Regions from separate parts of the Homo sapiens genome. Here region 1 is linked to region 2. Evidence: promoter capture Hi-C in 16 types of primary human blood cells and fetal thymus (Javierre and others, 2016). All regions are on one chromosome and are shown on one strand. The core of a region is centred on a gene start or on the middle of the fragment in contact, and the rest is flanking DNA. Distances in the headings are between cores, read along the strand shown. Region 1 overlaps GZF1 (GDNF inducible zinc finger protein 1). Region 2 holds the start of SNX5 (sorting nexin 5).

Region 1 (3,921 bases), core at 1,223-3,722, 5.4 Mb before region 2:
TATTTGAAATGTGTTGCCAGACTTAACCCAGCAGACACTCTGACATCACGGAGCTTCACTGATGACAGGTAACGAAACTTCCTATGTTATGTCAGGTAGTAGTAAGTAGTATTGGAATGATGTTTTCATTTTTGGTGGCTCTCAACTGGAATTGGTAGTGTTTCCAGGCCAAGGGTCGACTGCAGGTTGTTTGAGAAATGATGAGTAGGTCAGTCTAGGAAGAAAGAGAAAGTAGCAGGAAAGGAAGTGGGAAGGGCCAGCCAAGGACAGACTGTAGAGGATCCACATCAGGTGGCCACGAGGACTTGCAGGCTATAGTTATGGTGGTGACATGCATGAGGTGGGCTGGTAGAGCAGGAAGCTCTGTGATGTCAGAGCATCTACTGGGACTACAGGTGCACTGTAGTCCCCACTACTGGGGGTGGCAATGAAGACACTCTGTCTGTTGGGCCCTAGAATTTAATGTGGATTTCCTCCTTCCTTCCAAGTTCTGAGATTCTTAAATGAGAGCTGGCTGTCTTCTAGAGGTAAGACCTGGAATGGAGTCCAGTTGGTACTTTTTCACTCCCTCTTAGAATCTCTTATGAAAAAATGATCAGAGAGAAAAGTGGGGTTTTGTTTCCCCACCTAATAATATATCCTACAACCAGCCAAATGCACTTTTGTGAAAATGGGGTGTGAGGAGTGGTTCTGCAGCTTGAGTCCTCTGGTTTTAAGTAGTTTGTTTCTACTTGTTTAAAGAATCTTCTGGTCTGACCACTTAAAGTAAAAACTACATGATTTATTTTCGGGCAATTATGTTTAGCTTTCATCATTATACTCCAACAGACCCGTCTGAAGGGGTATTTTTTTTTAACAATAATGTTTGTAACATTTTGTTGTGTCAATTAGAGGGTCACTTGTTTGTATTGCAATAAACACTGGGACCAGTTCCGGGGTTAAGAATTAATTTTTGTTTTTAATATTTCACATGAAAAGAATCAAAGTAATTGTAATGGCTAGAAGAGACCTGCCAGAAGATTAAAAAAAAGAATGAGAGAAAAGCCCAGTTAGTGGTGTGCAAACTTACTTCCTTTAAATGTCCCATGGATGTAGGACAGTGCCATGTTTCAAGATGCCTGTGAGCTAGGTCTTCAAGATTTATAGAATGTTACTTATGAACAAAATATAATTATTTATGGTACAATTCTTGTACTTTAGCAAATCTGGAGTTAGTTCATAGTCAAAGTCAGTTAATATTTCTTAGAGGAAAGTTTTGCTTTTTGTGGCAACATTTTTATAGCTTGTGTGAGTTCTTTTTTATTTAATGATTTGAAAGCAGTATTTTTGCACAGTCGTGACCGTGTGTGGTGGCGTCACTGTAACCAAAGTATATGCACCAGCCCTTGTGCATTTATTGTTTCTCCTGATTTTGTGGATTTAAATGTCCAAATGCAAACCTTTGTGACTTCCTTTGGAGGACTTGGCAGCACAGCATGCCCCCGTGACCTGCCTGCTGTGGTATGAGCTATGACCAAGAGCAGGCTTCCTGCTCCATGGAGTCCTGAGTTGCTCTGGGGCAGGGGATTACGTTATGAAAACTAACCATGTGTAACAATAAATCTACCTTAGCAGAAAAAGTATGCTTGTTTTATTTTAACCTATAAAGTGGAAATTATCAGTAATATTTTGATGAGTCTTGTTGCTAAATTGGCATAGGTCAAAAGTAGCTTCCATTGTTTCAAGTTGTTCCCGTTAAGATTAAGGCAACAGACGTTAATACTCTCTAGGCTCCGGTCATTTGTTGGGAATTCCAGGGCACCGTAATGGTTTTGCAGACTGAGGGTTTAGAAGGAAACCCTGGTAACTTCTGTTGATGCAGTCCACTAAAGTACATGATAACCCTGCAGACCCCACATTCTCATCCCTTCCTTGAATCCTTTAGGGTCTACAGTTACTTGCAAAGTTGAGGAAGGCATGGTTGCTGGAAGACTGGTGGGGAGGTGAGGCACCCCTAAGCCTGACACTCTCCTACCCCAAGAAAGTACCACTCAACTATCTGGTCAGTGTGGGCATTTATTTTAATTTTGCAAAATATCTGCACAGGGAGAGGAGATGCCCCTGGGGAAGGGTCAGTCCCACTGACCACTGGGGCCTGAAGTTCTGATGAGGAAGAGGACCCATGGCGGGTAGTGCAGACCGGCTCATCCTACCATCCTATCATAGAGCCTTGATTTCAGGTCCTAAAGTATATTCACAACACTTCAGGTAAGTCAAAGCAAAATGTTTTAAATGGTAGAACAAGCTGTCCTCATCTAGGCATTCTGAGTTGTTGATCATTCAAAGCCTAAATCAAGTGGCTCTTCTCAGAATCAATTTCCTAATGAAGATGCCACCATGGTAGTTTAAAAGCTTAGTTTTGTCAGCCTTAGTTAAGAGTCCACGTACGGATTGCCAAAGGTATGCAGATGATTTTCTGAGTCTCATTTAGCATGATGTGATAGATCAGGGGTCCCCAACCCGTTAGAAACTGGGCCTTACGGCAGGAGGTGAGCTGCAGGCAGTGAAGCTTCATCTGTATTTGCAGTCACTCCCCGTGGCTCACATTACCACCTGAGCTGTGCACCCTGTCAGATCAGCAGTGTCATTAGAGTCTCATAGGAGTGCAAACCCTATTGAACTGCGCGTGCACGGGATCTAGGTTGTACGCTTTTTATGAGAATCTAATGCCTAATGATCTGTTGCTGTCTTCCATCACCCCCAGATGGGACTGTCAAGTTGCAGGAAAACAAGCTCAGGGCTCCCACTATACATTATGGTGCATTGTATAATTACTTCATTGTATATTACAATGCAATAATAATAGAAAGTGCACAATAAATGCAATGCGCTTGAATCATCCTGAAACCATTCTGTCCCCCCACCTGTGGGAAAATTGTCTTCCACAAAAGTGGTCCCTGGTGCCAAAAAGGTTGGGGACTGCTGTGCTAGATGATCCTCTGACCTGTGTGCCTTTCTCAGTCACATCAAATGAAATATTGTTACTCCTGAGTACATGAATATCATGACATTTGGTTAAATTGACAAGTACCCATCTTGTTTCCCAAAAATGAACTCCTTGGAGGGACAAGGTTTATTTAACAGGTTAAAAATTAAATTATACACTCAAATTTACTTGTTTGGATAATCACCTACAGCAAAATCACATTTCTGTAAAAATCACCTTAAATAAAGGTCTCCACCACATGGCCCATTTTTTCCAAACGACAGCAAAGAATTTGGTAAAACGAAAGGCTGCACATCCCTTTGGAGTTTGGGCTGACAGCATTTCACAGAAAATGGTTGGAAAATGGTTGAAGCAAGCTCCTAAATGGCCCTTCTTGAGGCTCTGGGAGAGGCACTGTGCCGGCACCTGGCCACTTTCCTCATTACACACTTGGGACCAATCCACTCAGATGGTGGCCTCGCTTCCACTCAGCATGGCTGTGCTTGGACTTGGAGGAATGGGGCAGATGCTCCAGGAGGTCCTCTGTAACCAGTCCCCTACAGGGTTACGTTTCTCTGTTCTCAGGGACAGAGAAATGTATATAGTAGAAGTCGTATCTTTGATGCCTACTTTTTACATTGAAGAAAGTGGCAGAGAGCTCAACCGCACTTCCAGCCCGGTTGTGGCCTGCGCATGAGCAGAGGCCAGGATTTCTCCTCTCCAGGATCCCACTGCCAGAGACCAACTGGGATCCAAGCAGTTAAACAGCTTAATCCTAGGACTGTATGAAATAAAGGCTTATGGACCCGGATTTTACATTTCATTATTCACGTAATTAAGCAAATTATATGTTTCAATTAAGAATCATATTTCTGCAGAACCTAAATTATAACAGAAATAGATCTTTAAAAAATTGCAAAACTGCTTTTACAAAGCAGACATTTATTAACAACATT
Region 2 (3,728 bases), core at 926-3,425:
TTGAATGGAATATTAAATTTAAGGAAGCTATTCTCCTCACTTGTCCAAGTTAGTAAATTAGAAGTTGAAGGTTAAAGTGTATTTATCCTCAGATCCTTATGAAGAACCTCTGATTATGTTTACCAAGGTCTAAATATAGGTCATGTGTTCTGGTCTGCTTCAAGGTCTTTAAATTTACGAGTCAGTTTACGCTAATAAGTAGGACAGTGGGTATTTACTGGATTCTAAACAGAATTATCTAGCAAACAACTAGAATTCTGTTACCAGGTGACTTTTTTCAATAATCAAGGAAAACAAGCAATTCTAATATTGTTGGTAGCTTATAAAACAAGTGAATTTTATGTATTATTTAGTCAAATATTTGATCTATTTTAGTTTCATCTGTAAAATGTGGATAACAGTATCTATACTCCACAGGACTACCATGAGGATCAAGTGAGTTAATACACATAAAGTGCTATTTAATGTTAATTACTATCTGAAGGGAGTTCCTTGCTAGTAAGTTAAAAAAACAAAACCAAACCTCATTCTTTTGACACCGTTGCTCTCTATTATAGAAAACATAGCAAACATATAGAATCAGAATTGAGATAATTACTTGAAGTGTATTCTTTAAAGCCATCTTCTCCCAGTTCCAGAATCATCCGCTGTTTCCACCTCTCCAACAAGAAAACCTGTTGTTTTGTCATGGTCTGCTGAAGGACTCGGGTCACACTTGGTATCACATTCCTTTGCAAGGGGATTTTCAAAGGAACTGAAGGATCACTTGCATTTGGTTTATCACTTCTCTCTGGATTGAAGATAGGAAACCAGTTTTGTGGCACTCGTCTGTCCTCACCTTGGTTTGGCAGCTTATGCTTGCTCACGGGTCCACAGAGCAAAGCATCTTCCTCCACCGATCCCGGGGTCTGGGCGACGCCTCTGGATGACAAGACAGACTGAACTAAATTAGAGTATTTTTCTTGGTCCACTTCTTCATATGGGTTCACTTTTTTCTTCCGGCCACATGAGTAAGAGGAAGTAGAGAAAGCCACAAGGGCAGCTGATTCCACAGAAAACTTTGAACTCCTGAGCTGCCTGCAAATGGTCTGAAATAACTTCATCTTCATTCAGATTTGTTTTCACTTTAGTCTATTTGCAACGGTCGAAGGCCTTTATGTTTGTATTCCTATTGGAGAGAAAACAACCATCAAAGCGAAAGCTGCATCAGAATGATATTGCACATCAAAATTGTGAACTTTTTCGACATGTTTGGACAGAGCCCTTTCTTAAGAAAGTCGACAGAGCGAGACCCTGCCTCCAAAAAAAATTTATAAATAAATCAAGACTCAATACCCGAAGGACCGACACATACTAAATGCGAATTAGTAGACAGCTTGAGGCAAGACGTCCCAGTTTCTAATCTGCAGGAATGTGACGCCCAGGAAGGGAGGCGTGTGCGAGACACGGAAAAACACAAAGATGGAGCCCGTCCCATGGCGGCCACACAGTCCTAGGTGACAGACGACGACTAATTCCTAGACACCAGGCTCTCTGCTAAGTATTCTGTGTGGATACTTCTCATTTGGTCCTCACACCCTCTACCGTGGGTCTAGAATGAACCCGTTGCACAGACGTGGAAATCGGGTTGGAGGGTCCCGTCGCTCGCCGGTCAGAGCTGGTGGCGGCGCTGAGGTCCCATTACTGTGACCGCAAAAAGTCGCCTCCCGCTCCGCCGTGGGTGCGGACCCCTGGCGGGGCCAGGACGGCGGTGGCCCCTGTGGCAGGAGTCTGGATTAGAGAAAAGACGACTTAAATAAAAGCCCAGCCTACGGCAAGTGTCGGTACCTTGGAAGCCACCACACTTCGCTTAACTCTCAAGGCGCGAACAACCTCTCGCGACCCGTACTTTCATCCGTCCCGCGCTTTGGTTTCGAATTAGGCACAGCCTAAGGCAAAGCAGGTCCAGAATGCCCCGCGGCGCTCACGCCCCACCCGAGGCTTTCGTCGGCCTCCGCCAACGCGCCACCAGTTAGAGGCAGGGAGTACCTCTCCGAGCGGAAGGGCCGGCGTCTCCGAAGCGCGGGAGCCTCCAAATCGCGCCCTTCTGCTCTCACGAGATCTGGTGACGTCAGCGCTCGCTGCCATCTTGGACTCGGGCTGAGTAATAAATTCCCCCCGCACCGAAACGCGGTCTTTCTCTAGACGCGTCTTGCTGGGAGAGTGTCCGTTGCTTCCCGTCCGTGTCGCGGCCCTGCGGTTGGCGGCCTCCTCGTGGAGCGGAGCAAGGGTAGGCCCCACGTGGCGTCTTTGCCCGGCTCCAAGATGGACGGCAGCGGGGACTGGGAGGCTGCTCTGGGGGAGCACGTGGCGCCCTGCTCGCCTGCTCCCGGGGCAGCTGGGATGGTGGCGGAGTCCGGAGGCCTCCTGCCGCCGTCGGGCAGGGAGGCCGGCGGAGGCGGGGCCGTGGCCGCCCCCGAGAGGCGCCCAGGCGGCGGCGGCGGCGGCCCAGCTTCTTCTTTCCTCGCACAGCCAGGCGGCCCCTGCTCGAGTCCCGCGTCGCCATGGCCGCGGTTCCCGAGTTGCTGCAGCAGCAGGAGGAGGACCGCAGCAAGGTGAGGTCCTCCCAGCCTCAGACTCCTGGGCGGGCGGCCCTGCGAGCTCCGGGGTCGCTGCATTCTTTCCCTTGCGCGTCCATAGGCCGTGGCTGCTCGCCGCCATCCCCAGCGCGGGAAGCACCCGTGAGACCCGGGCGGCCCCTCTCCCTGGTCTTCACTGAAGGCTGCCCCGGGGAATCCCTGTGGATGTCCCGGATTCTATTAGGACAGAACCAGAGACGCGGGACCTTAGCCCCAGCTCAGGCGCCGGTGCCGAGCGGACTTGGAGAGATGATCTCTGGAGACCCCGGAATGTTCTTTTTAAAACTTTCCTCGGCTTCGTGGTGACCAGTAGGTGAACGTGAAATTGACTTAACATGCGACAGACCAGTTTGGTTTGTTGCCCCCAAAATACCCTCCTTCCCCCCACCTTTTACTGAGAAGACTTTTTTGGGGGGGGGGCCCAAACAACTTGGGAAATTGCATCAAGCGTCCGAACATGCTGCTTACAACTTTAGAAACGCAAAATGCGTTGTTGTGGGAGTTGTGTAATTTTTAGTAGGTGCTCAAATACTTGCTGAACTTGGTGTCTATTTTTAAGTCTTGCCCATTGATGTAAACTGTCCCTAGGTCACGTGTATCTTGAGGTCTAAAAGATTATTTATGCAATAAATTGAAATTCCCATAGCCAATTAAAGATTCAGACGAGCCTCCACTCTTTTTCATTGGTTCTTTAAATTTGCCTCGGTAGCTTTGCGATGCATGGTTTGCGAGCAACCTTTCTTGCAGAATCGTCAACGTAAGTTTTTCTGACCGATGAAAAAGAACCTCTAAAAATACAAGGCTCTCTTAAAATGTAATTTGGAGCCGTCTTAACTTACACATTTCTTGAGAAGTTAAAGGCACCTCCATAGAGAAACTTGTTCATCTAGTAAGTAAATACCAGAGTTTCAAAGCGGCTGGATTGTTCCAACAAGGGTATCATTGCATTAATTATTAAAATAGAGCTTTCTATACAGGAGGGTGTTGTTTAGAGTGGTTTTTTTTTTGAAAGTTCTTTATTACTAAAACAAAGTGGAAACTTGAGACCACGATTCTTTGTAAAACATTATAAAGGTACTTTTCTCCATAAAGGGTAGATAATGGATTGGG

The links. Contacts are between HindIII fragments. The CHiCAGO score rates a contact against its expected background, and 5 or more counts as called.
Region 1: a contact is called between a fragment that was not itself captured here and the fragment with the promoter of SNX5 in region 2, in 1 of 17 cell types (total CD4 T cells). The highest score is 6.3, in total CD4 T cells.

Annotation. Positions count from the first base shown.
Region 1 is chr20:23,372,220-23,376,140 of GRCh38, reverse strand. It overlaps GZF1 (GDNF inducible zinc finger protein 1), which reads right to left. Exons shown (of 6, transcript NM_022482.5): 6 at 3,079-3,921. NAPB (NSF attachment protein beta) reads left to right here. Exons shown (of 11, transcript NM_022080.3): 11 at 1-1,619. Among named protein-coding and RNA genes, the nearest start is that of GZF1, 12 kb to the right of the region's middle. The HindIII fragment of the contact is 157 bases long and covers 2,394-2,550 here.
Region 2 is chr20:17,967,241-17,970,968 of GRCh38, reverse strand. SNX5 (sorting nexin 5) reads left to right here and starts at 2,175. Exons shown (of 13, transcript NM_014426.4): 1 at 2,175-2,594. The coding sequence starts at 2,544. It overlaps MGME1 (mitochondrial genome maintenance exonuclease 1), which reads right to left and starts at 1,951. Exons shown (of 5, transcript NM_052865.4): 1 at 1,828-1,951; 2 at 599-1,168. The coding sequence starts at 1,109. RefSeq lists enhancers at 957-1,086, 1,107-1,306, 246-1,445, 2,027-2,336, 1,953-2,707 and 3 more and a silencer at 2,337-2,546. The HindIII fragment of the contact is 5,200 bases long and covers 1-3,728 here.